2 separate regions of the Homo sapiens genome follow, and region 2 is linked to region 1. The links are contacts of gene promoters, found by promoter capture Hi-C in human tissues and cell types (Jung and others, 2019). All regions are on one chromosome and are shown on one strand. Each heading gives the region's core, a stretch centred on a gene start or on the middle of the fragment in contact. The rest is flanking DNA. Distances are from core to core; before and after follow the strand shown. Region 1 holds the start of ELAC2 (elaC ribonuclease Z 2). Region 2 has its middle 9.1 kb from the start of MAP2K4.

The links. Contacts are between HindIII fragments. The study calls those that stand out against the background at their distance.
Region 2: a contact is called between a fragment that was not itself captured here and the fragment with the promoter of ELAC2 in region 1, in 1 of the 25 tissues and cell types used here (lymphoblastoid cells).

Annotation. Positions count from the first base shown.
Region 1 is chr17:13,016,186-13,020,899 of GRCh38, reverse strand. It overlaps ELAC2 (elaC ribonuclease Z 2), which reads left to right and starts at 2,873. Exons shown (of 24, transcript NM_018127.7): 1 at 2,873-3,197; 2 at 3,779-3,829; 3 at 3,968-4,038. The coding sequence starts at 2,953. RefSeq lists a silencer at 2,756-2,835 and enhancers at 3,356-3,415, 3,436-3,545, 3,057-3,557. The HindIII fragment of the contact is 16,662 bases long and covers 1-4,714 here.
Region 2 is chr17:12,009,390-12,014,135 of GRCh38, reverse strand. It overlaps a transcript of ZNF18 not described here and the pseudogene RPL21P122. Among named protein-coding and RNA genes, the nearest start is that of MAP2K4, 9.1 kb to the left of the region's middle. The HindIII fragment of the contact is 4,053 bases long and covers 974-4,746 here.

The DNA.
Region 1 (4,714 bases), core at 1,624-4,123:
GCCTCTACTCCAGCAAGTCCAGAGACACTTTTCTGTTTCAGACTCTCTGAACTATCCTTTTGGAGGTACCAGTCACACCAATCCCCTTCAGAAAACACATACATTGTTGTCTTGATTCAATTTTAGGCCCTGCTTAGTTGTAAACTGAAAACCTCATTTAAGCTACTGGCTTGCTTCTAATTTCCTAGTATTTATTGTCTGCCACAAGCCAGACTCTGTCCTAGGAGCTAATGATACAGCAGAGGACCAGATAGACAAATCCCAGGCTCATGAAATTTACATTCCAGTATAACCTCAGATTGAAGAAGTACTAGCTATTGTCTTCATATACCAGGAATAAAAATATGACCCAAAGCATAAGTGCAGAAAGTACACTGGGCCCTAGAAACAACCTAAATAGCATCCAGCCCTCAGAATTTTATATAAGTCGATGACCAAAAGTGATTCCTCCTATAATTTTGAGATAAGTAGTTTGAGATTACCCAACAGATAGATATGCACATAGGGCACCAATAAAATAGAGGAACCAATGTATTTTTGTTTGTGAAATTTGATATATTTTTTAAAAGGATCAAAGCAGTCATCACAGGAAAAAAATCAGTATTTTATTTATTGCACTACACTTTTTAAAAGTAGTTTTAATGAATTAATTTTCTTTTTCTTTTTTTTTTTTTTTTTTTTTTGTAGAGAGTGTCTCACTCTGTCAGCCAGGCTGGAGTAAAGTGGTATGATCATAGCTCACTGCAGCCTCAAACCCCTGGGTTCATGTGATCCTCCTGTCTCAGCCTTCAGAGTAGCTGGGACAACAGGTGTGTGCCACCATGTCCAGCTAATTTTTACTTATTTTTAAATTTTTTAGTATTTTTTGGTAGAGATGAGGTCTCGCTTTGTTGCCAGAGCTGGTTTGTTTGTTTGTTTTTGAGATGGAATCTCCCTCTGTCACCCAGGCTGGAGTGCAATGGTGTGATCTTGGCTCACTGCAACCTCTGTCTCTGGGGTTCAAGTGATTCTCCTGCCTCAACCTCCCCAGTAGCTGGGATTACAGGCCCATGCAACCACTCCCGGCTAATTTTTGTGTTTTTAGTAGAGACGGGGTTTCATCATGTTGGCCAGGCTGGTCTCGAACTCCTGACCTCAGGTGATCCACCTGCCTCGGCCTCCCAAAGTGCTGGGATTACAGGCATAAGCCACCATGCCTGGCCACAGAGCAGGTTTTGAACTACTAGCCTGAAGCTATTCTCCCGCCTTGGCCTCCCAAAGTGCTGGGATTACAGATATGTGCCACGGTGCCCAGGCTTTAAGCAACTTTTAAAAACTATCATTTTTATTTCAAATACTTATGGAGATGGTGGTATGATAATCTTTTCAGTTTGTAACGCCCTCTAACTGTGTAAAGTAGATCTGAAGTGTTTTCCTGACCCTCACTGGGATGGTTATTTCAAGTACAAAACGTTTTCACACCGTGGGTGATAATCTTCCATAAAAAATTTCATATTTGAATGAAAACAGCTCAAGAAATACACTAATGAGCAAAAATATATGGGGAAAGAGGAACGTGTAGTTTTGACTTAACTGAAGAAACCAAGAGGAAACTGGTCTCCATATGAAAATGTGATCCTGGAAAGTCAGGTGTCAAGATTTTCGAGTAGGAATCTACATGACTTGAATCTCCCTTACTTCCTGAATAAAAGTGACATCTTTCAGTATTTATTTAAAAAAATCATATGTCAGTGGAGCTTCCAGGTAAATTATCTTTAAAAAATCATATTTGAGTGGAGCTTCCAGGTAAATTATCTTCCTCTTTTAAGGGAGCTCCCTGTATTTCTAGCGGCTTTAACTGATATCCCTTTCAGTGAGAAATCCTCATTAGCTACATAAGAGGGGACTGGGTGTTTTTTTCAAAAAGCTGGTATTGGGACATCTACCTCTGTGATGTCCCTGGTCAGCTATATTGTCTAGGAGTTGAAACATTTTGTATTAATTTTCTATCATTTACTGGGTGCCTCTTCTGTGACAGTGCCACTCAAAGGTCTATTGATATATTATCAGGTGACTGAATTCTATATTCTGAAGTAGGAGATACTGTTATTGCTGTTATTACATTTTACACATAAGAAAGCTGAGGCTCTGAGAGGTCAAGATCACGCAGCTAACAAATGAGCCAAGACTCTTGCTTTAGAGCTTGTCCTCTATTCTTGCTTTTCTTTCCAAAAAACACTACAATTTTTGTTTTGTTTTGTTTTGTTTTGAGACAGGGTCTCGAGGTGTCACCCAGGCTGGAGTGCAGTGGCGCGATTTCGACTCACCGCAACCTCCGCCTCCGCGCTTAAGCGATTCTCCTGCCTCAGCCTCCCAAGTAGCTGGGACTACAAGCTCGGGACACCACGTAAAAATGATCAAGTTCTAACATGTATGCATACGAATTACAATGGAAATAAAATTAGCAAAGCGCTTATGCTAATGCTCAATACAATTGATTTCCTCACATTTAATCCTCACAACCACTACAACCACCTCTAACTCAAGCTCTGAGGGACTGACGTGCCCGGAGGACACAGCTCTTATCTGGTGAGAACAGGAGCGTTTTAGCGAAACTCCAAACTCCTAGGTCCCGCCTTCCCCAGGAAGGCTTTTCCTGGCACTGTGCTTCCGGAAGTCCCGCCCCAGGAGAAAAACAGCTTCCGGAAAAAATTGCGGCCGGCAAACCGGAACAGAACTAGGGGCGGGGCCGCTTGAGACGCTCTAGTATTCCTCTACTCTATGGCCACTGTCAATTGACAAGTCCCGAGCGGTAAAGCTCCTTTCTATTGGATGAGCAGCCTCGCGTAGGCGGGAAGCTCGGTGCACGGCGCGCTGATTGGCTGGATCCGCCATGCGGAGCGGCTAGGTGGTGCACGGGAAACGCGGGCGTAGGTGACCGGCGGCTTTCTCAGTTTTGGTGGAGACGGGCGCATGTGGGCGCTTTGCTCGCTGCTGCGGTCCGCGGCCGGACGCACCATGTCGCAGGGACGCACCATATCGCAGGCACCCGCCCGCCGCGAGCGGCCGCGCAAGGACCCGCTGCGGCACCTGCGCACGCGAGAGAAGCGCGGACCGTCGGGGTGCTCCGGCGGCCCAAACACCGTGTACCTGCAGGTGGTGGCAGCGGGTAGCCGGGACTCGGGCGCCGCGCTCTACGTCTTCTCCGAGTTCAACCGGTCAGTCAACGAGCCACGCCCCGTCCCGCTGGGCCCTCAGTGCGGCGCAGCCTCTGAGCATCGGGGCACCTCCCAGGGCTTCGGCTTCCCTGCTTCACACATGTGGTTCACTGTTGCGGGGGTTCGTGGAGTTATGGTGGGTGGGAAATCCGAGATTCTTTGCATCCATGTGATTTCTGCGGATCTGTGAAGAACTTCAGGCCTGGGTCTGAGCGTCCTTTTCCCAACCCTTGGGCCCCGGCCTGGCTGTCAGCACTTTCGGAGCTCCACCCTCTTCCGTGCACCCCAAGGCCAGTGTGTCGTTGTTAGCGTGTGGGGTGGACAGATCTGGTGTGTAGCCGGTGGTGGAGAAAGGACTCATTTTGTCCTAGCACCCACACACACAGGCCCCCACTCCTCTCCACCTCTGCTAAGGAGGGCTCAAAACCCACCAGCATAAATGTGGCTCGGTAGTCCAACGTGGACTTTTAATTTTTTTTTCTTTTTTTTTTTTCCAGAGTCTACAATAAAACATCTAATTGGTGTCAGAGAGTTTACAGAATAAAACCTTCTGAATGTCTTGTGTAATGTTTGTCTTGTAGGTATCTCTTCAACTGTGGAGAAGGCGTTCAGAGACTCATGCAGGAGCACAAGTGAGTCAGTCTCTTGCTTTCGGAGGGGGAGTTGATTACGGGGCTTGAAAGCCGAAATGAGAGGCCAGTTGTTTTTTATAGCAAAAGTGGTCCTTGTTCTGTTCATGTTATCCTGTTTAAATGTTTTTTCATTCTTAGGTTAAAGGTTGCTCGCCTGGACAACATATTCCTGACACGAATGCACTGGTCTAATGTTGGGGGCTTAAGTGGTGAGTATATTCTTTGCAGTGTCAGAGGCTGGTGGGAAGTCTCTGGGATTTTAACCGGCTTTACCATTTTTCCAAGTCTGGGGTGGGCAGCTACTTTTTTTTTTTTTTTTTTTTTTGTCAGTGGCGTGATCTTGGCTCACTGCAACCTTTGCCTTCTGGGCTCAGGTGATCCCCTCACCTCAGCCTCCCAAATAGCTGGGACCACACGTGTGCCCCATCACACCTGGCTAATTTTTTTTGTATGTTTTGTAGCGACGGGGTTTTGCTATGTTGCCCAGGCTGGTCTCAAACTTCTGCGATCCTCCTGTCTCGGCCTCCCAGAGTGCTGGGATTACAGGCATGAGCCACCGCACCTGGCCTGGAATTCTTTTTATACCAGCCCAGTCAGCAGCAGCACAGAGCATTAAAAGCTGTGACTCAGGAGAACAGATTTTAATATGGATACCACCTCTTAAGTGTTACCATCCACTTAGTTTCTTGCGTTGCGGGGACAGAGATTTGTGGCAGTAAACTGGAGAGTCTAGCAGTGGTGATTACAGTTAATATGTTTACCGCAGACGCCATTGGCACATTGGCAGCCACACACATACCCACTGTCCAGATTACCCTGTCATTTATGTCTATCAACCGGAAGGTCAGGATTGTGTTGCAGCCAAATTGTGTGGGCTTGGTGGCA
Region 2 (4,746 bases), core at 1,751-4,250, 1.0 Mb after region 1:
TATCTGGCTTTTCTATTATAGCCACCCTAGTGAACAACATTATGTTTTGAGGCATTTCATCTACAATATCCAATGAAGAGGACATTGGCCGACATTATATTTCTTATAAACTAAAAATGAAATATATGTTCATTTCAAGAGGAGTTACCAAAACATGAACTCTCGTGACCATCTGTCAGTCACTTTTGGTCCCAGCACATCAAATTCAACCAATCAAAGCTCAAGAAAGCCTTACTCTTTTCCAAATTGTTCCATACAGGTTTGTTGTCTTACTCTAACCATCAGATATCAGCAACTAAATTCTGTTAGTAGTTGATGAAGCACTTTATCAGCAATATAGAATAATTGAAAAATTATTGTTAGACACATAGGAAATTCTCTGTTTTTAGAATGTTGAAAAGAATTAAGTTACCTGACATTTGGAATTAATAGCAAAATAAAGAATACCCAACAAAAAAATGTTAATGAGCAGGAGAGAAATGTCATAAGAATGAAAAAACCTAAATTAGGTGACAAAACTAATTAGGAAGACTAGAAATAGACTCAAATACTTTTGAGAATATAGTATAATTAAAGGTGAGATCTCAAATAAAGGTAGAAATTTGCTAAAAAGTGAACTTGAATCCATAGCTCAAACTTTAAATCTAGATGAGTTCCAAATGGATCAAAAATCTTAGTATTAAAGAAAAAATAAGAAACCATGAAGATATAAGATAAGCCCATCATTTCTAAGAACGACACAAGTCAAAAGATGAAATTTCTAAAAAATTCTCTTAGCAAAAAACACAATAAGCAAAGTCAAAAGACAAACTGCTAACTGGGAAAATGTTTCAATTTATAACATGGATAAAGGATTAATTTCACTAATAAAAATTTCCTATAAATTGGCCAGGCACAGTGGCTCACGCCTGTAATCCCAGCACTTTGGGAGGCGCAGGTGGGTGGATCACGATGTCAAGAGATGGAGACCCTCCCAGCTAACACGGTGAAACCCCATTTCTACTAAAAACACAAAAATTAGCCGGGCATGGTGGCACATGCCTGTAGTCCCAGCTACTTGGGAGGCTGAGGCAGGAGAATCACTTGAATCCAGGAGGCGGAGGTTGCAGTGAGCCGAGATCGCGCCACTGCACTCCAGCCTGGTGACAGATCAAGACTCTGTCTCAAAAAAAAAAAAAAATTCCTACAAATCAACATGAAAAAGAACAACAACCTAATAGAAAATTAGGCCAAGAAAATTAACAAGTGGATCACAGAAAAGGAATATAAATGTCTCTTTAAAAATGCGAAGATGCGGACAGGCACATTGACTCACACCTATAATCCCAACACTTTGGGAGACCAAGGCAGGAGGATCACTTGAGCCCAGGACGTCAAAGCTGCAGTGAGCTGTGATCATGCCATTGCACTCCAGTCTGGGCCACAGAGGAAGATTTGTCTAAAAAAAAAGATGTAAATTAAAACCACATTGAGATATAATTTCTCAGTTATCTAGCAGATGAAGTTTAATAACACAATATATTGATGAAAGTGTGGGCAACTGGCATTCTTCTACATAGCTGGTGGGAATGTACATTGGCACAGCTCAATGGGGGACAAGTTAATAATGGCTATCAAAATTAAAAATGTATATACCCTTTAACCCAGAAATTATACCTCTAGACGTGTATTCTTACAGATATTCTCACGTTTGCAAAATGATATATGTCCAAGGTTACTGAATATAGTATTTTTGTAGCAAAATATTAGAATCAACTTAAATGTCCTTTAACAGGCAACTGAATAAACATGGAGCGAATACTACCCAGCTGTAAGAAGAGGAAGCTCTTTGTGTAGTGATATGGGATGACTATCAATATATATTGTTATCTTTTAAAAAGCCAGATGAAGAACACCATGGTTTGCTACTATTTGTTTTAAAGAAGGAGAAATGTATATGTAATATTTAGTTACTTGTTTTAAATTTATTTGGAAAGATACTGAAAATAATGAAAATTTTGGTGTCTCAAGAGAGAAACTGGGTGATTGGTGGACAGGATTGAGAGGGACACTTTACATTATATATTCTTTGGTAGCTTATGGACTGTAAATGTCATGAACATAATAGCTAATGAAAATTAATGAATTAAGATGTAACTGCTGGGCGCAGTGGCTCACACTTGTAATCCCAGCACTTTGGGAGGCTGAGGTGGGCAGATCACGAGGTCAGGAGTTCAAGACCACCCTGGCCAATGTGGTGAAATCCCATCTCTACTAAAAATACAAAAATTAGCTGGATGTGGTGGTGCATGCCTGTAATCCCAGCTACTCAGGAGGCTGAGGCAGGAGAATCACTTGAACTTGGGAGGCAGAGGTGGAAGTGAGCCAAGATCGTGCCACTGCACTCCAGCCTGGGCGACAGAACTAGACTCCGTCTCAAAAAAAAAAAAAAAAAAAAAAATTAAGAACATTTGGCTGGGCATGGTGGCTCACACCTGTAATCCTAGCATGTTGGGAGGCTGAGGTGGGCAGATCATGAGGTCAGGAGATCGAGACCATCTTGGTCAACATGGTGAAACCCCATCTCTACTAAAAACACAAAAATTACCTGGGTGTGGTGGCGGGTGCCTGTAGCCCCAACTACTTGGGAGGCTGAGGCAAGAGAATCGCTTGAACCCGGAAGTCAGAGGTTGCAGTGAGCTGAGATCGCACCACTGCACTCCAGCCTAGGCGACAGAATGAGATTCTGTCTCAAAAAAAAATAATAATAAAAATGATGGAACTAAATCAGGATGATGGATGTCCTTTCTTTTGTTGTTAAATAAACATTCTTATGAAACAGCAAATATTTATTACCATACATTTATATTCTTTTAAAGTTTCATTCAAAATATGATTCAGGGGAACCGCCATCTTCCAGTAATTCACCAAAATGATGAACACAAAGTGAAAGAGGAGAGGCACCCGATATATGTTCTCCAGGAGTTTTAGAAAACATGGAGTTGTTCCTTTGGCCGTGCACAGGCGAATCTAGAAGAAAGGTGATATTATAGACATCAAGGGAATGAGTACTGTTCAAAAAGGAATGCCCCACAGGTGTCACCATGGCTAAACTGGAAGAGTCTACAATGTTCCCCAGCATGCTGTTGGCATTTGTTGTAAACAAACAAGTTAAGGGCAAGATTCTTGCCAAGAGAATTAATGTGTGTATTGGGCATGTTAAGCACGTGAAGAGCCAAGATAGCTTCCTGAAACAAGTGAAGGAAAATTATCAGAAAACTAAAGAAGACAAAGAGAAAAGTACCTGGGGTTCAACTGAAGTGCCAGCCTGCACTGCCCAGAAAAGCACACTTCGTGAGAACCAGTAGGAAGAAGCCTGAGGTGCTGGAACATATTCCCTATGAATTCATGGCATAGTAAGTGTTTAAAAAATAAAAGACCGGCGGGGCGCAGTGGCTCACGCCTGTAATCCCAGCACTTTGGGAGGGTGAGGTGGGTGGATCACGAGGTCAAGAGATCGAGACCATCCTGGCCAACATGCTGAAACCCCGTTTCTACTAAAAATACAAAAAAATTAGCTGGGCGTGGTGACGGGCGCCTGTAGTCCCAGCTACTTGGGAGGCTGAGGCAGGAGAATCTCTTGAACCCGGGAGACAGAGGTTGCAGTGAGCCAAGATTGCGCCACTGCACTCCAGACTGGCGAGAGAGCAAGACTCCATCTGGAAAAAAAAAAAAAAGTTCAGAAACAAATGTTTTGGAAGCAGTTTTAAAGAAAAGCAGTCTGTTCTTGTAAATACATTCTATTTTACTTACACAAAACTTTTCCTTTTTTCTCTTTAAGTCACCAGAAAATAAATGTACTGAGTTTCTATTCTTGGCTCAGATTCAACTAGAATAGCGAAGAATTACAAGATATATAAATGAAAAATCCTGTTCATTTAGTAAACATTTCATACTATATTTATACAGTGAAATTCATTGATAGTACTTTTTTTTTTTACTTATAAGTTTTTATTGGTTCTAATTAAGCCTGAGAATAAAGTCTTGTGAAACTGTCCTCTCCATTACTGTCTATTCTAATCTATTCTCGACAGGCACCACAATAAAGCTTTCACCCCTGTTTTGGTCTGTTATATCCAAGCCACATGTGCAGTCAAGGAAAAGGTGATGTTCCTGTAGTCTTTTCTAAACTACCATCTGCTAATATTACATAGATAAGCCATATTTTAGGCACTTTTTTCTACCATCTCACAAATCTGTATGTTGGAATTCTAGGAATATATGTTAATAGATCATTTGGTGTATTTTAAGTGGTTTTTCAAGAAGCAAAGTTAGGGTATTTGTTGTTTCTTTTACGTCTCACGCAGGCAGGAGCAAGGAGGGATGATTTAAAAGCTCAGGAATGGCCAGGCGCGGTGGCTCACGCCTGTAATTCCAGCACTTTGGGAGGCTGAGGCGGGTGGATCACTTAAGGTCAGGGGTTCGACACCAGCCTGGCCAACGTGGTGAAACCTTGTCTCTACCAAGAATACAAAAATTAGCCGAGCATGGTGACGGGCGCCTGTAATCCCAGCTACTTGAGAGGCTGAGGCAGGAGAATTGCTTGAATCTGGGAGGCGGAGGTTGCAATGAGCCAAGATCATGCCACTGCGCTCCAGCCTGGGTGACAGAGCAAGACTCTGTCTCGAAAAAAGAAAAAGAAAAAAAAAAAAAAAGCTCGGGAATGTATGGCACAGAGATGGGTGGAAATTGATCATGGAGGACCAT